Linked DNA regions of Homo sapiens: region 2 is linked to region 1. Evidence: promoter capture Hi-C in 16 types of primary human blood cells and fetal thymus (Javierre and others, 2016). All regions are on one chromosome and are shown on one strand. The core of a region is centred on a gene start or on the middle of the fragment in contact, and the rest is flanking DNA. Distances in the headings are between cores, read along the strand shown.

Region 1 (4,405 bases), core at 1,104-3,603:
AAAGGTTTTATAAATGGATTTAGAGTACTGTTTTAACAGTATTTTAATAATAAAACAATTTAGACTGAAATTTCGATTGAAAAAAGATGGTGAATATCTAGAATAGGCTTTTATGCTGTTAATTGATTTTTAAACTACTTTTTAGATATTTGCAGAGATTTAACAAAATATTTTTATTCTTCTCTTTGGGCTTCCAAAACACCACAGCCATCTGTGTTACTGTCACAGCTTTCAGAGGATTCTCACATGTGTTATCTCATTTTATACAATGCCCAGACTTCTTGAGAAGGTGATAAACCCCCCAGACTGGAGAACACCACGCGTCCTCTACACAGGCCACGTCCAGGGCTGCCTAACAACTCCAGCAGGTCTTAACCATAGCAGAGAGAAAAGTATCCCTGTAAACGGCTTTATTAGGTGCGAAGCTCTTTTAAATGTAAGCTTCTTGAGGATGATGACTTGATCTCATCCAACATTTTATCCTATAGAATGCTACAGAACCAACCTACAATAGATATCTAGTAAATATCTATAGAATAAATAAATGAATTAAAGTCATATAGAAACCTGAGTTAATATTTATTCCATTAACTGACTGGTCATGGTACTAATTAGCTCTAGGAAGCCAGATGAAAGTAATTTATGCAAGGGATCATTACCATTGTCACTAACGCGATACATAAACATGTGAGTGAACATTTTGTGGAGTAGCATATTCTTTGTGGTTTTATGTCCAAAAAGTGCAGTGAACCCGCAGAGAGAAAACATGCTAAAATATAAGAAGTGTGCAGTCCTACCAGTAAGCACAGTTAGATGTGTGATCATCCATAGACTCAGGGCCATTTATTTATTTATTTATTTATCTATCGAGACAGAGTCTCGCATGGTCGCCCAGGCTAGAGTGCAGTGGCGCAATCTCGGCTCACTGCAACCTCCGCCTCCCAGGTTCAAGGGATTCTCCTGCCTCACCCTCTTGAGTAGCTGGGATTATAGGTGAGTGCCACCGTGCCTGGCTAACTTTTATATTTTTAGTAGAGATGGGGTTTCACCATGTTGGCCAGGCTGGTCTCGAACTCCTGATCTCAGGTGATCCGCCTGCCTCGGCCTCCCAAAGTGCTGGGATTACAGGAGTGAGCCACCACACCCAGCCTGATTCAGGGTCTTTATGTAAAATATCCATAACATATCTGTTGGATTCACCCTCTGGTACGTCAGTGGCCAGAGAGATGGGAGAAGAATGATGGGAGACAGTTTTTTAGCACTTATAATGAGAGGCAATGTTGTAAGGACTTGGCAGTAGTAATACTCCCCATTTTACAGGTAAAGCAGCTGAAGCCAGATATTAGGTAACTTGTGTGTGGGGGGGCCACACAGCTTGTAAATTTCATTTGATCCTGATTTCAGAGCCCTTGCTCTTATTACACTATATTGTACTCAGAGTGACACCAAAAAAACAAAATACCACGCCCCCCTCCCCCAACACACACACAAACACACATATATAAAACCCTCACTGCCCTTTAAAGGAAGTCTCTTCACAGCTTCTATTTTGCCAAGTTTCTGTTACCACCATTCCCAACCTGGACATAAATGTTGCCAAAGCACTGCATAGAATTCATTGTGATTTTTTCCCCTCAGGCACATAGAAAAGATACGTTTAGTCTAAGTAAACACAAGTATAAACCACACAACAGACTTTTTTTTCACTTATCTAATTAGTAGTATTTAGCATTTAAAAAGCAAAGATTGGTACTCTTTGCTGGCGGGAGGGTAAATTGGTAAAATGTTTTTGTAGACCAAAAAGTACCGTTTTATATCTAAAGCTTTAGAAAATATACCCTTTGCCCTAGGAATTCTACCCCTGAGATTCTATCCTGAGAAATAATCTTATATTTCTAATAATTCCTATAGCATAGGAATATTCTATATTAAAATAACTTTGTTCCTTTTCCTTCATACTAAGTTATCCTGAAATATTGGCATTATTTGCATAGTTTTGCTTGATACTGTCTTTTGTCATTGTGAGTTTATACAGTAGTACATGAAGTGAGCCCTATTTTTTGACAAAGATATTTCTGGTGGACCCATCGCTTTCAGTCAACTTTATAAGAACTAACTAGACCTACCAGTCAGCAGAGAGAGTAAACTTACATTATTAATATAATTTTTGTTAGAAGTGATGGTAGCTTGTTCTTAAATAGATTGTTTTCCTTTTTACCTTTTACCTTAAAACTTAGGCTTTTAAAGTTTTTCTTTAAAAAGTTTGTTGAAAAAGCAAAAGATCTTGTACTTACATATCAGTGACTCGTTCGGGTCTCTGTGTAGTAGCTGTGAGTAGTTGTCCAAACTGAAGTAAGTTTTAACTGTGGCATGTTGTTTTAAGAGAGGCTGTGCAGACCTCCTTTTATGGTGGTGACTTTTTTTTTCTCTGTCACCCTGTGACTGAGCATGTAATGAGCAGTTAGCCTCGTGTACGTGTGTGCACTTTGTGTTTTTTTTTGTTTTAAATGGGAAGTGAAATTTTTTATAGTGATTAAAAAAAACTATCCAAAAGCCCCTTGGAATTTATGAATTGTTGATATCTGTGGAACTTTATAAATTTTTCTGTAAAGGTTTAAGTATCAAAAAATTCTTTGAAAGAGACTGAAGCAATAAACCTTAACCAAAAAAAAGACCAAGTTACTGATGATTTTATATTGATTTTGCATGTAAAAGTATGGGTTTTTAAATGTTTTAAGGAAAATAGTGTCAACTTTGACAGTGCTTTTTACCTGGAAACTTGGTATCAGGGAGTAGTTTACACATTCCACCTTATCCACAGCTTATGAGAAAGAAACAGGTTTCTGTGGCGTGGGGGTGAGTGACAGTCCAGGATGTGGAGTGGACTGGATTAGTCGCCGTTTTCAGTCGAGAGGCTGCCTGAGTCAGAGGCTGTGTGAGTACTTGAATAACAGGGAAACAGTTGAAGGGAGGCCCATTATAGATAAAATCCAGCCTCTTCAGCACAGGGTGAAAGAGACTCATGCCATTCACCTCATAGTTGTAGTTGACTCAGTTTAAACCAACTAACGTGTCTGTCAGAATGCAGTTTATTTGTAGGCTAAATTACCAGATATGTAGCACTCAGATCAGGAGAGGTGATGTTTACACTTAGTCAGGACTGATCTGGCCATTCCCAGCCACTTCTGGGTGCTGCTTTTTACGAAGACATAGATAACACCTGTGGCAGTGAGGGGCCTGGATAGCAGGTCTTAGGAGAACTGATTAAATAAGCTGGGGATGTGTATGCTTTGTAGGCATAGGGTCATTATCCTTATGCTTGTGGAAACTCTCATAGAAAAGTGTTTACATTGCTTGTGTCAGTCTTCCTAACTCCAGAGACTAGCGGGAGGGTCAGTAAGAAGTTACTGGACATAGCTTTTGGATCAAAAGATGAGAGTCATTCCCAAAAGTTGTGATTATTTTGAAAAATGGAATATGCTGTTTCTTATTTAGATGCTTGAGTAAACTTGATGATTTTGAGGGATGATGTAAACAGAATTGAATCATTTGGTAGGAATTTGTAACTCTGTGATCTCAGAAGCCTTTCTGCTCCAGGATTCTGTAAAAATAGTCGAGTAGCTTTTGCCTCCCACAGATGTCATTAGGTTCTTCTAACGTCTAAAGTGCTGTGAGTATGGAGGAACATTGTCAGACACAAGAAAGAGCATCAAGCAAGTCAGCTGAATTCTTTGGGCCGCCACCTCACTGTGTATAAAATAAAGGTATTGAACTAAATGATCTCCAAGGTAATTCCTAGTACAAAAATTCTATGAGGGGGTAATACAGAGATTTTATGACTTGGTGGATAAACATGACATCATATTCTAGAACTAGTTCATTTAAAACTTAGGCTGCAGAGTACTTGAAGAAGACACTGTTGATAAATTTTTCAGTTTGTTGAAAGACCATTCTGGTGGGGTTTTGCCTGTTAATTTTGAAATAGTTATATTAAGTAAAACATTTTTATATAGTGAAGGACTCAGCTAGTTCAAGTAATTCCTCTGACAAACTGGATCTGTCCTCCCAACCTTCTTTTTTTTTTTTGAGACAGAGTCTCGCTCTCACCAGGCTGGAGTGCAGGGGTGTGCTGTCGGCTCACTGCAACCTCCACCTCCCGGCTTCAAGCAATTCTCCTGCCTCAGCCTCCCGAGTAGCTGGGACTACAGGCATATGCCACCATGCCCAGCTAATTTTTGTATTTTTAGTAGAGACAAGGTTTCACCATGTTGGCCAGGATGGTCTCAATCTCTTGACCTCATGATCTGCCTGCATTGGCCTCCCAAAGTGCTGGGATTACAGGTGTGAGCCACCGTGCCCAGCCCCTTTTTTTTGATATCAGAGTAGTCAGGCAGATGAAGAAGAG
Region 2 (4,293 bases), core at 754-3,253, 40 kb before region 1:
TATGCTTATAAAATAAAACTAGTACTCCATTCAGTTGAATATTTGCAGCAATGTTATCTTCTTATTGCTAATACCATTTGTATGGGTAGACTTTATGAGAAGTTTATGACTTTCAGCTCATACAGCTTCTTGCGCTCAGCAAGCCACAGTCTAAAGAGAGTCTTAACTGAGAAGGGAAGGAAGGAGGCAGGCAGGACCACCCTGAGACCCACAGGCCAGCTGCCGCTGTGCTTCTTTGGAAAAAAGGTTCTCAGACTGTGTTGGCTTACATCTTTCTGCCTCTGGTGTAGGATTTGCTCTTCTAACATGAATGGAACATTTGATTTAGGATCAGTAATTACAGGTTTTAGAACTGGAGTTTGAAGTATCTGTGACACATCTCTCTTTGACAGTCATGTGGGTACTGATCCCTGATTGCACTTTCACCCCTTTTCTTCTTCTTGTTCTCGTTTTGTGTGTGCCTTGTGAACAAGGACCTGGCACGTGCGTCTTCAAACGTTTCAGCGCATCTAGAGTAGTGCTTCACCCAGCAGGCCCTCAGTTAACAGGCATATGGATTCGACTGGTGTTTGTGTTTTTCTGTAAGAAAGGTTATGCCATGTCTCAAAAAATGAATGGCTAATGTTTCTAGGTAGATACAATTACAAAGACGTACCAAATAAAATAATGAGACAAAAAGAAATAGGTAGATTGGGATTGGCTGTGTAGAGGTTTTAAGGTAAAAGTGGGCAAGTTAAAAAGGTTTCGTATCAGAGAAGTTAGTTGCAATTTATTGAATGTAGGAGTACTCACACAGTTTATTTGAATATGAAATAGATCCAGATTTCTTATGTATGGTCTCCGGTTTTCCATACCGATTGATAGTTCAGGGCTGCTTTGACATAAATACTGTGCTTCTACTGCCACCTACAGATGATTAGTGGGTCTTGGAGCTCTTCACCTTTACCCCTTCTAAAGTCTCTTTGAAATTGAAATAATTTTTTTTAAAAGCTATTAATTGGTAGAATATTATAAAATATTTTAATGTTACTTTATGAATATTTCTATATTATATTACATAATACTATATAATATGTAGCTTTATATAATAGATATGAATGTATTCCTCTAAAACAAGGTGGCCAATCTTCTGGCTTCCCTTGGCCACATTGGGAGAACTGTCTTGGGCCACACATAAAATACACTAACACTAATGATAGCTGATGATCAAAAAAAAAATCATGGAAAAAACTCATAATATTTTAAGAAAGTGTACTAATTTGTGTTGGACTGCATTCAAAGCTGTCCTGGGCCCATGTGGCCCATGGGCTGCAGGTTGGACAAGCTTACTCTAAAACATTTTGGCTTGTAGACCATTTCTGCCCTCTTTGGAAGCATCCTCTTTTTTAGGAAACAGTTTTTCTCTGTAGGACTATGTGTATTCCTGGGCTAGGGCCTTGAGAAGATTCCATTTTAACTCTTATTTGTATCTGATATTATACTAAGATATTAAACATAAATGTGGCCTTAGAACAAATTTGACATGTTAAATATATATATATATGTATTAGACAATTTATCGTCTTAACCATGTTTAAATGTGCAGTTCAGTAGTGTTAAGTTCATTCACACTGCTGTGCAGCCAACCTCCAGGACATTTTCATCTTCCCAGACTGAAAGCCTGTACCCATCATACAGCAAATATCTCTTCAGTCCCTACTTTCAGTTCTTTTGGGTTATATCCCTGAAAGTGAAATTGCCGGATCGTGTGGTAATTCTGGTTTTAGTTTGTTGGGGAATGGCTGTATCGTTTTCCCCAGCAGCTGCACCAGCAACACAATGCCCAGTTTCTCCCTATCTTGGCTCGCAGGCACACCTCTCTCACACTCGCCCTTCCCTCCCCTCCCTCCCTTCCTTTCCTGTAGTAGCCATCCTCATGGGCATAAGGTGGTGTCTCATTGTGGTTTCATTTCCATTTCCGATGATGAGTGACTTCAAGAATCTTTTCATGGGCTTCTTGGCCATTTATATATATTTCTTCTTTAGAGAATTGCCTATTCAAGTTCTTTGCCCATTTGTTAATCTTTCTTGGTTGTTGAGCTGTAGGAGCTCTTTATGTAATCTAGATGTTAATCCCTTATCAGATGATTTGCAAATATTTTTTCTCTTACTCCGTAGGGTGCCTCTTTTCTTTGTTGATTGTGTCCTTTGATGCAATTTTTGGAGCATATTTTAGGCTTGCTCATTTATCATATTTTGATGATAAGGATGAATTTCATAGCTTTAGATTTCTAAATGGTGAGGGGAAGGGAGGGGAGGTTATCCTGAGTAAAATCAATGAGTCCTTTTGGAACCTTTCCTCATGACTTAAGCCGAAGCAGTATTTTCCTGCAGTCCTCAGCACCTTTGCCTTGTCCAGGAGGATATAAGTAAGGAAGGAAGAAACTAGCTCTGTTCCAGAGTCTGCTCACTTCAGAGCCTTCCACTTGCTACTGCTGCTTTCTTATGCTCTGAAAGGTATCTGCCTTTATTATTATAGTCATTTGAAATTGAAAGAGTAACATTTATCTTTTTGTAGCATTCTTGGTCCCTGCTGTTCTGATTAATATTTTATCAGTGATAAAAAATACCAAAATATAGTGTGTTTGCTCATCAGATTTGCAAATTACAAAAACTAGGAGGATATTTCAGTAATGGTGGAGGCTAAGCTTCTGTAACAAACCGCTGACACAGTGGCTCAAAGAGCGCAGATGTTCATTTCACTTTTGTAACCACCCTGTGGGGTAGGCAGGCTCTGTACCGGTAAGTCGTCAAGGGCCTGGTCTGGTGGAGCACCTCTGCTTTCCTCAACATGTGCCTTCCAAGGAGGCTCCATGGCTTCTGCTTCCAGCTGGTGTGGAAGAAAGAAGGGGCATGCAGGAGGAGGGATTGCCTTTCCCCAGGTGCCTTCAAGGTTGCAGATGTCACTCCTGCTCCCAAACCATTGGCAAGAACTTGGTCACGTGGCCACACCTAATCACAGGGAGGCTGGGAGATGTAATCTTACCTGGGCAGTTGTGTCCCTGGAGATAAGGGAACAGTGGGTTTTCGGGGAGCTGCTAGCAGTCTTCTCAGAAGAACAATAGCTCTAACACATTAGCTGCCTCAGCAAGCTGGAGTTTTGGGCTTTATAGTCAAAATATGAAACATAGAAGGAGGCCAGGCATGGTGGCTCTCACCTGTAATCTCGGCATTTTGGGAGGCCAAGGCAGGCAGATCGTTTGAGTCCTGGAGACCATCCTGGGCAACATAGCAAAACCTTGTGTTTACATAAAATACAAAAAATTAGCCAGGCGTGGTGGCATGTGCCTGTAGTCTCAGCTACCTAGGAGGCTGAGGTGGGAGGATCACCTGAGCCTGGAGGGCCGAGGCTGCAGTGAGCCATGATCCTGTCACTGCACTCCATTCAGCCTGGGCTACAGAGTGAGACTCTGTCTCAAAAAAAAAAAAAAAAAAAAAAAGAAACACAAAAGGTAAAGAAGGTAAGAGAGAGAACATTAGGTCTTTCTCTTGAGTCTTAAAAATCAGCTGTAGAGGCACTGAATGATAGAGTTGTTTGGCTTGTGAAATGGCATCATGGAGTGACTGCCAGTTGACACTAATATGCCCCTAGATGCCATTTGTAGGATTACAGGGAAACAAGGATGTTGCTGGTGGTCCAGGTTGGCATCAGGATGGGGTGGAGATGGAGATTGGCCATGGGAGAAACAGGTGGAGAACAGGCATTGCTTACCCCAGAGAGAAGAAACTGGGGCAGAACTGTCTTCCACTGTTGAAAGGGCTGCCCAGTGAAAGAGGAGTTAAATAAGGGGGGAATGGCCTGTGGTGAATGAAGACCACGGGGACATGCTACGGGATATAGCTTTGGGCTTGGCATAAGGAGTAACTTTGCAGCACTCACTGTCTCAAGATGAGGTGATCTCCCTTGGGAGCTGCTGAATTTGACACTGAGGATACTCAGGCTGTGGCTGGGAGAGTGCGAGGCAGGGGTGTTGCAGGAAGTCCACTCATTGGTAGGTACCACAAATGGAGTGCCTATGAAATCCCTTTAAACCGTGAGCATTCTGTGGTTTAAATGAGCTATATTCTGATTCTGTGCTCTTCTTTATTGTGAGATTCATAAGTAGGCTTAGAGAACTAGAGAAATTAATTGGAGTCCAGCCAAGGGACCGCATTTCCCAGGATGTTCTGTGCAGCCTAGTACTGGTACAGCAGAACTTGTTCCAGGACATAATTCACTGCAATGTAGAGTTATTATTATATTTCTCAAATTCT

What was found. The method cuts DNA at HindIII sites, captures the fragments that hold promoters and counts their contacts. A CHiCAGO score of 5 or more calls a contact.
Region 2: a fragment that was not itself captured here is called in contact with the fragment with the promoter of GPR183 in region 1 in 4 of 17 cell types (total CD8 T cells, non-activated CD4 T cells, monocytes and 1 more); the score reaches 6.3 in total CD8 T cells.

What each region holds. Positions count from the first base shown.
Region 1 is chr13:99,305,046-99,309,450 of GRCh38, forward strand. It overlaps GPR183 (G protein-coupled receptor 183), which reads right to left and starts at 2,354. Exons shown (of 2, transcript NM_004951.5): 1 at 2,295-2,354. The region is part of intron 4 of UBAC2 (UBA domain containing 2); the gene reads left to right. The HindIII fragment of the contact is 4,315 bases long and covers 1,822-4,405 here.
Region 2 is chr13:99,265,156-99,269,448 of GRCh38, forward strand. All of the region lies in intron 4 of UBAC2 (UBA domain containing 2), which reads left to right. Among named protein-coding and RNA genes, the nearest start is that of GPR18, 8.9 kb to the left of the region's middle. The HindIII fragment of the contact is 1,363 bases long and covers 1,323-2,685 here.